Regions from separate parts of the Homo sapiens genome. Here region 2 is linked to region 1. Evidence: promoter capture Hi-C in human tissues and cell types (Jung and others, 2019). All regions are on one chromosome and are shown on one strand. Each heading gives the region's core, a stretch centred on a gene start or on the middle of the fragment in contact. The rest is flanking DNA. Distances are from core to core; before and after follow the strand shown. Region 1 holds the start of GABARAPL2 (GABA type A receptor associated protein like 2). Region 2 overlaps ZFP1 (ZFP1 zinc finger protein).

What was found. Contacts are between HindIII fragments. The study calls those that stand out against the background at their distance.
Region 2: a fragment that was not itself captured here is called in contact with the fragment with the promoter of GABARAPL2 in region 1 in 1 of the 25 tissues and cell types used here (mesenchymal stem cells).

What each region holds. Positions count from the first base shown.
Region 1 is chr16:75,564,080-75,569,096 of GRCh38, forward strand. GABARAPL2 (GABA type A receptor associated protein like 2) reads left to right here and starts at 2,300. Exons shown (of 4, transcript NM_007285.7): 1 at 2,300-2,441; 2 at 2,773-2,828; 3 at 3,958-4,130. The coding sequence starts at 2,408. RefSeq lists a silencer at 2,363-2,772 and an enhancer at 2,762-3,515. The HindIII fragment of the contact is 9,271 bases long and covers 1-5,017 here.
Region 2 is chr16:75,168,872-75,173,888 of GRCh38, forward strand. ZFP1 (ZFP1 zinc finger protein) reads left to right here. Exons shown (of 4, transcript NM_153688.4): 4 at 382-3,363. The coding sequence ends at 1,463. Among named protein-coding and RNA genes, the nearest start is that of ZFP1, 23 kb to the left of the region's middle. The HindIII fragment of the contact is 4,139 bases long and covers 437-4,575 here.

The sequences.
Region 1 (5,017 bases), core at 1,050-3,549:
GCCTTTTGAAAAGGAAAGGCAGATTGTGTTACGTCTCTGCTTAAACCCCTACACTGACTTCTCATCTCATTCTAAATAAAATCCAAAGCTCTTTGCATGGAATTCAAAGCTCAACACAGTTTTGTTCTAGATATCTTTGAATTTGTCTCATAACACACTCTCCTCTCTCATTTATTCAGCTCCAGCCACAGGGGTTCCCTAGAATATGCCAGGCACTTTATCTAATTAGCATTCCATCCCACCACACTCTCTAGTCACCTACTGTGCTTTATTTTTCGAAATAGCACCTATCATTACCTAACATACTTATTTTTTGTCTTATCCCACTAGAATATGTCAGGGGGACAAGAATATCTCATGCTGCCACCCATGAGAATAGGGATGTCATCTGTCTTCTTCACTGTTTTTCCCCAGCACCTAGCACAGAGCTCTTGTATGTAACAATAATTTCTAAGTAGGAAATTCAAAGGATTTTTTCCACTTCATTAAAAACAAACAAACAGATGCAGTGGCTCACACCTGTAATCCTAGCACTTTGGGAGGCCGAGGCGGGCAAATCACTTACTTGAGGTGAGAAGTTCAAGACCAGCCTGGCGAACATGACAAAACCCCATCTCTACCAAAAATACAAAAATTAGCTGGGTGTGGTGGTGTGTCCCTGTAGTCCCAGCTACTCAGGAGGCTGAGGCAGCAGAATCGCTTGAACCCAGGAGGCAGACTGCAGTAAGCCAAGATTGTGCCACTGAACTCCAGCCTGGGTGACAGAGAAAGACCCTGTCTCCAAAAAACAAAAACAAAAACAAAGAAACAAAAAAACCTATTCTAGTTACTCAGACACACAGTCTTAAAATAACAAAAATACTTATAGAATGAAGCTAGATTCCACAGCATCGATCAGGAATTTCCAGTGTAGGAAATGATGAACTACCACATTCAAACATACAGGCTTTACAGGTGCATCAGAATCACAAGCACGTGGCAGGGTTCATGTGCCCAATTAAGTGAATATTCCTGCTACATGTTCAGCAGCTTATAAACAGATGGTGACCCAGACCAGACTGCCTTGATGAGTCTGCTTGGAAAAAAGGCATTACATCACTGATTGGAGAACCTCAAAGCATATGTCCGGGCAGGTGACACACACACAGCTCAGGCTGTGATTGCTAAACCACTCCCACAGCCAAATAAGGAAACCCATCTCATGACCAGCTCTCAGGGGAATTCTCCGAGTCTGACAGTCACCTCTAACTCCTCTGCCAGTTAAAATTAAGGGGTCTGTGATCAGTGATGTTACACTCCTCAAATGTGCATTTTTTTTTGAGGCGGAGTCTTGCTCTGTTGCCCAGGCTGGAGTGCAGTGGTGTGATCTCGGCTCACTGCCACCTCCACCTCCCTGGTTCAAACGATTCTCCTGCCTCAGCCTCCCGAGGAGCTGGGACTACAGGCGCCCACTACCATGCCTGGCTAATTTTTGTATTTTTAGTAGAGACGGGGTTTCACCATGTTGGCCAGGCTGGTCTTCAACTCCTGACCTCAGGTGATCCACCCGCGTCGGCCTCCCAAAGTGTTGGGATTACAGGCGTGAGCCACCGTACCCCGCCTCAAATGTGCATTTGTGATACCTTTTCGTAAATGTTTATTCAAATATTTATTCACGAATAAAGGAAGAAAACGGGATTTGTTTAAATTCAATTTCTAGGTCCAAGACAACCTACTACGGCTGTCCCTAATACGGACCTCCGGGTTGTCCTCAGTGCCGCTTCCAACAGTGTCCTCAAACACCCTCCCCTCCCATAATGAGCCCCCAACCTGTCACCACTCCGAGCAATACTCCCCAAACTGTCAACGCCCTAAACAGCTCCCTTGTTATCGCCAAGCTCTAGAAAGCCCTCCTTATGTCATTCTTACCCCTAAAGACCGTTCTTGTCACCAATTCCCCAGACTTCCCCTATGAACCGCTCTAAGAGCCCTCAGCTATCAGCCACACCCCCAAACAGCCCTCAGTAAGAGCCCTACACTATCAGCCAGACGTTTTCCGCCACCAACGCTCCCGAGACCCCACTCCTGTCACCAGTTCCCCGAACATTCCTGCGAGCAATGTCGCAGATACTGCTCACAGACGTCCCCATAACCAACTTCTTCGCCACCGCAGCCCAGGAGCCCCCAAAGGGGTCCTCCGCGGCCCCGCCCCTTTACGTGCGGCCCCGCCCCTTGGCGTGGCGCCCTGACAAATGGCGCCGGAAGCCCCGCCCCCGGCCGGTTGCTAGGCTCCGACAGCCGGAAGTCCCGCCTGCCGTGTAGTCGCCGCCGTCGCTGCCGCTGCCGCTGCCGCCGTCGTTGTTGTTGTGCTCGGTGCGCTGAGCTCCGCGGCTCCGCGAGCCGGTTCCGTCCCCTTCCCGCCGCCGCCATGAAGTGGATGTTCAAGGAGGACCACTCGCTGGGTAAGCACTTGGTCGTCGGCCCGGCTGCTGGGGGCTGGGGCGGCGGGTGGGCCCCCTCCCCCACTCGGGCGGCCCTGGGCCGAGTGGAGCGGGGCGGATGCCCTGCTGCGGGCTGGAGTCGCCCATGCCCTGGTGCCTCGGGCAGCGGCCCCCTGACCCCATGTCACCCTCCGCGGGCCTTGCTGGGAGCTAGTAGGGGACAGGACCGCGGCCCCGGGGACGCCGGAACCAGGGCCTGGGTTGTACGCAGGGCGCAGGAGGAGGAGGGCCGGGGGCCGGGAACCGACCGGTGGGCAGGCGCGGCCGTCAGCCCCGTTTGTTTCTCCCACAGAACACAGATGCGTGGAGTCCGCGAAGATTCGAGCGAAATATCCCGACAGGGTTCCGGTGAGTGGACTCTCCGCCCCCTCACCTCGCTGTCACCTCTGTCGTCTGGGACCCGTGATAGGCCCCAGGCCATTCAACAGTTGACAAGTTGAGGTTCCAGTCCCAGTTACAGTAGCTGACGGGCCAGACCGGGATGAGGCCGCCCAGGGCCGGGGCGTGAGGGGCTCGGGCTGGTGCTGTTCAGGGTGCCTCAGTGCTGAATCTCCCGATCTAGGCCAGCGAGCCGTCTGCAGCCTCGGGGCTCCCTGGCCAATTATGTAAGGAACGATGTTCTAGGACAGGGCAACAGGTCACTGCCACTTTTGGGAATGGTGGTGGAGGGAGACTGTCATTTTGGTCTTGGAAGTGGTACTTGAGTCTCAGGACGTTCATCTTTTACTTTGTCTCCATCTTTACCTAACTTCTAGCTCCGTTATCTCACCTTGACCCTGTCATCCTTGCCTGACCAAAATAATGTGAAAAGCCGCTGAAAACCCCTTCTGCCATATTTTCTTCTTAGTCAATAATAAATATAATGTTATATTTCTTCCATGGTTGGGGAGATAGTTTTGTAATCGTTATTAATTTTTAATGGACATTAAGGCCTGTTATTGTAGCTCTTTGCTTGTGAATAATTTGTCTGGGGAAAGGAGTAGGAGGGACGGATTTGAAACTTGTTCAGAGAGGAGCAACAGGCCAAATGAAGAACTTGGTTCTTGGCTGGCTAAAATTCCAGGCATTCCAATTAGTCCATCCATTCTTGTCTCCTGTGTTCCTTGGGAACACAGTAGTGTTTCCTGTAGTGTGAAGGTGGATCCATTCTGGGGTCCTGGAGTAACGGGCCATGGATGAAACCCTCCCCAGATATTCTTAGGTCTGCCCAGATAAAATGTGGAAAAGCTTAGTGGTAAGGGCTGCATTTCTCTTACATAATTGACCACAGAAAAGCACTTACTGTTTCCCTGTAACACATTTATATCAATTCTTAACCTCCAGAGCGTGTGGTTTATTAAGCCAAAGACATATTTTCTCCTGCTATGCAGTTCCCCACCCACCTCCTTGCCCACACTCTGTTCATCAGCTCCTCAGCCATGTGAGGCCAGAGCCTCGCTTTAGGAAACACAGTCCTGACCTCTCTTTACTTTCCCAGGTGATTGTGGAAAAGGTCTCAGGCTCTCAGATTGTTGACATTGACAAACGGAAGTACTTGGTTCCATCTGATATCACTGTGGCTCAGTTCATGTGGATCATCAGGAAAAGGATCCAGCTTCCTTCTGAAAAGGCGATCTTCCTGTTTGTGGATAAGACAGTCCCACAGTCCAGGTGAGAGGTGTTTACTAGATGGGCCCTCTGGTATTAGACATCTGGTTGGCTGCTTACGGAACTCCAAAACTTTGGAAGTCTGAAAACTCTTAGGGGTCCTGACTAGAAATCTGGATTTTATGCTCCCTGACATCAGGGGCTCCAGGAAAATAATGGCTGCAATACATAAGAGTGCATTTTGGATTCAGAAAATAGAACAAGGCCTGGACTTTTAAAAAAATGATGAAACTCAGCCTAAGATCTCCAAGAATCTTTTAAAACGGTTGAGAACTTATTTAGTCTTAAGCTATAGGTAGAACTGAGGCCTGAAATGAGGTTTTCTTCCCTGAAGGCAGTCCTGGCATGCTCCTCCACTGGGAGCCTGTGGGCCCTGCTGAGGCTCACTCAGTTAATCATCCAGTTTGCTTGCTCCCAAACTTGGTCAACTCTTTGACATTGTAAGAGTCTATAGCTGCCTGATCCTCAAGTCTGACAAAATGACTGCGGCACAGTAAAGGGCTCTGAAGTCTCTTTACAGACTTATACCTCCCTTGGTAGCACTTGCTTTGACTGTCAGACTATTGTGCTGCCTGGAAGCAATCTTTGGGACTGTAACTTGTGGCCTGAATGTAGGCAGAGGCATTAGAATTCCCGTTTTCTGTGTGTTTGACAGCCCAGCTTTAGTCCCCTGTGGAAAAAGGAAAGTGGATGGGCTCCGTCTAACCTCCTGGTCAGTCCTTTCCCGTTACTGAGTGGGTAGTTGTAGGCCCTGATCCAGATTCCAGCCCCCACCTCTCCCCTGAGTGTGAGTTTCTGGCCACATCTTATCTTTGTGACCCAATCTAGGTTTCATTTACCACTCCCAGAAGTAATACTTCTAAAAGTGAAGGCTCTCAGAAGCCCTGGGA
Region 2 (5,017 bases), core at 1,256-3,755, 400 kb before region 1:
TTACTTTCTCGGTCTCTGTGCTAACTGCAGTGTCCTTAAGAACACTGTGAATCTCCCTCCCTGGCATTGCCAGCCTTCTCATATTGTGTTCTGTTTTCTGTCTCCTTTCACCCTCTCTGCCCACTTTAAGGTCATTTTGTGATCTGGCAATGCTACTTGTATTGATTTTGGTTTTGTTTTGTTTTTTTAACCACAAGCTATTACCTTTCTCTTTCAAAGTTTGAAAGGAAACATTTGCACTGGGAATTTTTTAATATTGGGAGACTGGGTCCCAAACTAAAGAGTCAGCCCTGTGATAGAACACGTGTGAAGACTTCCCATTCGGTAACATTATAGCGGAGGCATTGACAAGGTTCTTTTCATTGTGCTCTCTATTCCTAGAAGTGTGGAAGGCTGATGACCAGATGGAGAGAGACCACAGAAACCCAGACGAGCAGGCGAGGCAATTTTTAATTCTTAAGAACCAAACCCCAATTGAGGAAAGAGGCGATCTCTTTGGAAAAGCACTTAATCTGAACACAGACTTTGTTTCTTTAAGACAAGTACCTTATAAATATGACTTATATGAAAAAACTTTGAAATATAATTCAGACTTGCTTAATAGTAATAGAAGCTATGCAGGAAAGCAGACTGATGAGTGTAATGAATTTGGAAAAGCACTTCTCTACCTGAAGCAAGAGAAAACCCACAGTGGAGTAGAATATTCTGAATACAATAAAAGTGGAAAAGCCCTCAGCCATAAAGCAGCCATTTTTAAACATCAGAAAATAAAAAACTTGGTTCAACCTTTCATTTGTACTTACTGTGACAAGGCTTTCTCCTTTAAGTCACTCCTCATTAGTCATAAGAGAATACATACTGGAGAAAAGCCATATGAATGCAATGTATGTAAGAAAACCTTCTCCCATAAGGCCAACCTCATCAAACATCAGAGAATTCACACTGGGGAGAAACCTTTCGAGTGTCCGGAATGTGGAAAAGCTTTCACCCACCAGTCAAACCTCATTGTACACCAGAGAGCACATATGGAGAAGAAGCCCTATGAGTGCAGTGAATGTGGAAAGACATTTGCCCAAAAGTTTGAACTCACCACACACCAGAGAATTCATACAGGAGAGCGACCCTATGAGTGTAACGAATGTGCAAAAACCTTCTTTAAGAAGTCAAACCTTATCATACATCAGAAGATTCACACGGGGGAGAAACGCTATGAGTGCAGTGAATGTGGAAAATCCTTTATCCAGAACTCACAGCTCATCATACACATGAGAACTCATACAGGAGAGAAACCCTATGAATGTACTGAGTGCGGCAAAACTTTCAGCCAGAGGTCAACTCTTAGATTACACTTGCGAATCCACACAGGAGAGAAACCATATGAGTGTTCCGAATGTGGGAAGGCCTTTAGCAGGAAGTCCCGACTCAGTGTCCATCAGAGAGTTCACATCGGGGAGAAACCCTGAAACTCCAGCCAGGTCTTACTGTGGAAAACTCCTGCCAGAACTCTTCAAGCGGGTGAAAAACCTCATGACAGTATTGAGGGAACATGGGAATTCATACTGAGATGCAATCTCTCAACTCAAAAATGTATTAAAAATAGGATCCCATGAGAACATTATACTGGAAGTTACATGTGATACCCAGCTAAAGAATACATATCAGAATATATCCAGTTGTAAATAGCCATACCCAGTTGTACTACAATGAGCTTTTTAAAATCTTGAATGAATTGAGTATTCTAGACAGCAGCATAAGAAATATACAAACAGTATCCTATGAATTTAGTGGTTTTATGTGGATATGCCACAAAACACAAGTGGTATGCTTTAGATCTGCACATGTGAATTTAGCATAATCACTGGGAATTTGAAATTCTTGTCCTCTGTGATAATTAGGACATAACAAGATTTTCCATACTAAACATCACATGTGTTTTTCAGTATCTCTGCAATCCAGTATGCATTCCAAATGAAATGTGTAACATTTAAAGTAGCATGGAACCTACGTCTTTCCCTACTGCTTGCTGGCATATATCAGTTGGTATGAACATTGTTCTTGAGCTGCCTCTTAGGAAACAGAAGACAGTGTTGAAGTTTTCCCTGCTTCTGGTTTGCTGAAGATTTTCTAGAAGCACTATTTACACAAATATGCAAATGTGAAATAACCGATCTATAACGTGAAGGAGGCAGACATGAGCTGTACTACTCAGTATGCACCACAGAATAAGAGTTTGCCGTGTAAAGACAATATCCCCATTCGTCATGCTCTTATTTTCCCGTGGGATATTTGCATACAAATGCATGTCTGTTACCAAAATATTGTGTAACACAGACAGAAACCACCTGTTTTTGTCTTTCCTTGTTTCCCTTAATATTTCATGAATTGTCTAGCAAAAATGGTAGGATGCTTCTGTAGTTCACAAATGTTACATTTCAGAGACTTTAGAGGAAAAATTATTTTAAATAACTGTCAACTGTTTCATTGCTTTTTAAATTTTTCACGTGCATAACCCCCTTTAGAAGTAAATTTTTACACTATTTTGTTGTTTAAAGGAGGCATTTCTACTTCCTTGAGTTTTGCTGTTGCCAACCTAAAACATTTCCCTTTGGAACATGAGTTATAAGTTATTACTTTTCCTTTACATGTTTACACTTTTATAAAAATCAGATTTTTCAGTGGTCTCTCCAGATATTAACAAGAATTGTTGTGTAACTCAAAGATTTGCTTTTATAGACTTGATTTCAAATTCTTAAGTTCAGCCTTTCCCTATCAATCACAAATCATGTATTGGAAATTATAAATGGCAACCAAAAACTGGCTTTTAAAAAATATTTTTGGATATCATTGATGTGCTGTCACACTATATATTGAGTGACTTTCTGAACAAATTTATCCAGAACATCCATAGCCCAATAAGCTTTTGTCTAAGTTGTCATCTTACTTACTCACAAAGGAGGGGAAAACGTTATTTTCATAGCTGCTTTTAGAAATGTAAATTGTAACAGCCTCCTTGGACAACATTGTGAGTCTGTTTTAACATTAATATACTCTTACAACCTAGGAATCTCCTGGGAATCTATCCCTAAGGAATAAAAAGCGCCAGCACTTAAGATTATATGTTTACTAATGTATATTGTATTTTTTGGTAAGGACCAAAAAAACAAACAAAAAAAAGACCATCAGTAAGGGAATGGATGAATAAATTGTGGTAAAAACATACCATGGCTGAATGGTATTTCCTTGAAAAGAATGTGTGGGAACAAACTCCAAACTTCTCTAGGTCAAATGAGGAAAGCAAGAGGGGAGAGAGAGAGTGTATGTGTGTGTGTAGCAGTTTTTATAAAATAAAGATAAACCCTTATATATGTGTGTCTTTGTATATGATTTTATGGGCCTGGTGAATAGAATTCCTTCCATTTTTAACCTGTGGACCTCACCAGCTTTATCAGTGAGGGCTTTAGCAGTAAACTGAATTAGCGCCTTATGAAAGGATGACTTGGAGAATGAGAGAAGGATTAAGGGAACAAACAACGGATGGTAAGGAATCCAGAGACCAGCAGTGCCAAGAAGCTGTTGTCTCCCTAGGGACCAAAGGAAGAAATGGTGTTTCAGAGCCCAGTGAGAGCCAAAATGTTGGAAGGTCTCTTTCCTGTAGGAGATAGAAAAATAAAAAGGAAGAGTGTCTCTTAAGTGGATGTTGAAGCTCTACAAAGATGCAGCTACTGTGAGAAACACAGAACTGTCAGGAAAGGGAGCAGAGGGGGAAAAGCCTCAGCTCTTTATTGCTGTCTCCTGAAGATGCCTCCATCAACTGAACCTAATCAGAAGCCCGGGTGATGCCGTCCTCCTGGGATAAAGCAGGGTAGAAAGATGGAGGATGGACCAGGAGGGGAAACAGCACAATCAGCAAATCTCCCATCTCAGTTTCAGCCTTGCTGGTCCGACTGTAATGAGGCTTTCCCAGAAGGACCCTTCTTCCCCTATGGTCATTCCAAGTGGCAACTGTTTGTCTCATGCCTCTTATGCGTTTAGAGGTAAGATGACTGACTCTGAAGCCCAATTTCAGAGGAAATAAAAATTTGGGAGTTGTCACAGGGATAATATTTTAAGCCATAAAGCTAGGTGAGATTACCTAGGAAAAAAAAGTATAAAGAATGTCAAGGACTGAGCCCCGAGCACTCACCCCAGTGTTTGCTGGGCAGGAACTGGCAAATGAAACTGAGAAGGAACCACCAGGGTTAGGGTGAAAACCAGTAGAGGGTGGTATCTGAAGCCAGCTGAAAACACTTATTTTGAAGTAGAAGAGTGGCCACTATATCAAATACTAATAATTTGTATGAAGTTGGATATATGCTGAGATTAACCATCAGTGAGGTCATTTTGAAAAAAACAGTTATAAAGGAGTGGTCAGGGTAAATCTAGGAGGATTCAAGATAAACTTGGAAACAGGAGCTGTGAATAAGGGGCCAAGTGTTAAGGACTGAAAAGTCTGAGATTTTGTCCTACTTGCAAGGTAACAAGTTAAGCTACCAGTTTCATGGATACTGGCAGAAGACATACTGTACTGACCTCGAATACACATTTGCTGGGTGGAGTTACAGGAGGGGAGGTCCAAGTTTAGGGAGCCTGAATCTTAAACAGTGGTCTAGAAGTAAATCTATCAAACCTTTGTCTAGAAGGAAGACATATTATACTGGATGCTAAACAAACTGTTGCTCTGGAGAACGGATTACCTATCTAAGGCTATTCATCCTGAAAACAGCCTGTAACAAAAGCCATCACCATATGTACTTGTAAGATAGTGAGAAACGTGAGAAACCCATGGAGAATTGTCTCCCAACACAGAGAAACGGATGGGTAACTGAAGAGATGGGGGCTTTTGAGGATTTTGGTGTTTTAAAATATTAGAAATTCTAGGATAAATTTATATACTCATGGGAACGATAAGTAGAAAAATTGACGCTGTACGAGAAGAGGAGGAGGAGAATGGACTAGAGCAGAGCCTGAGCAGGTGAAG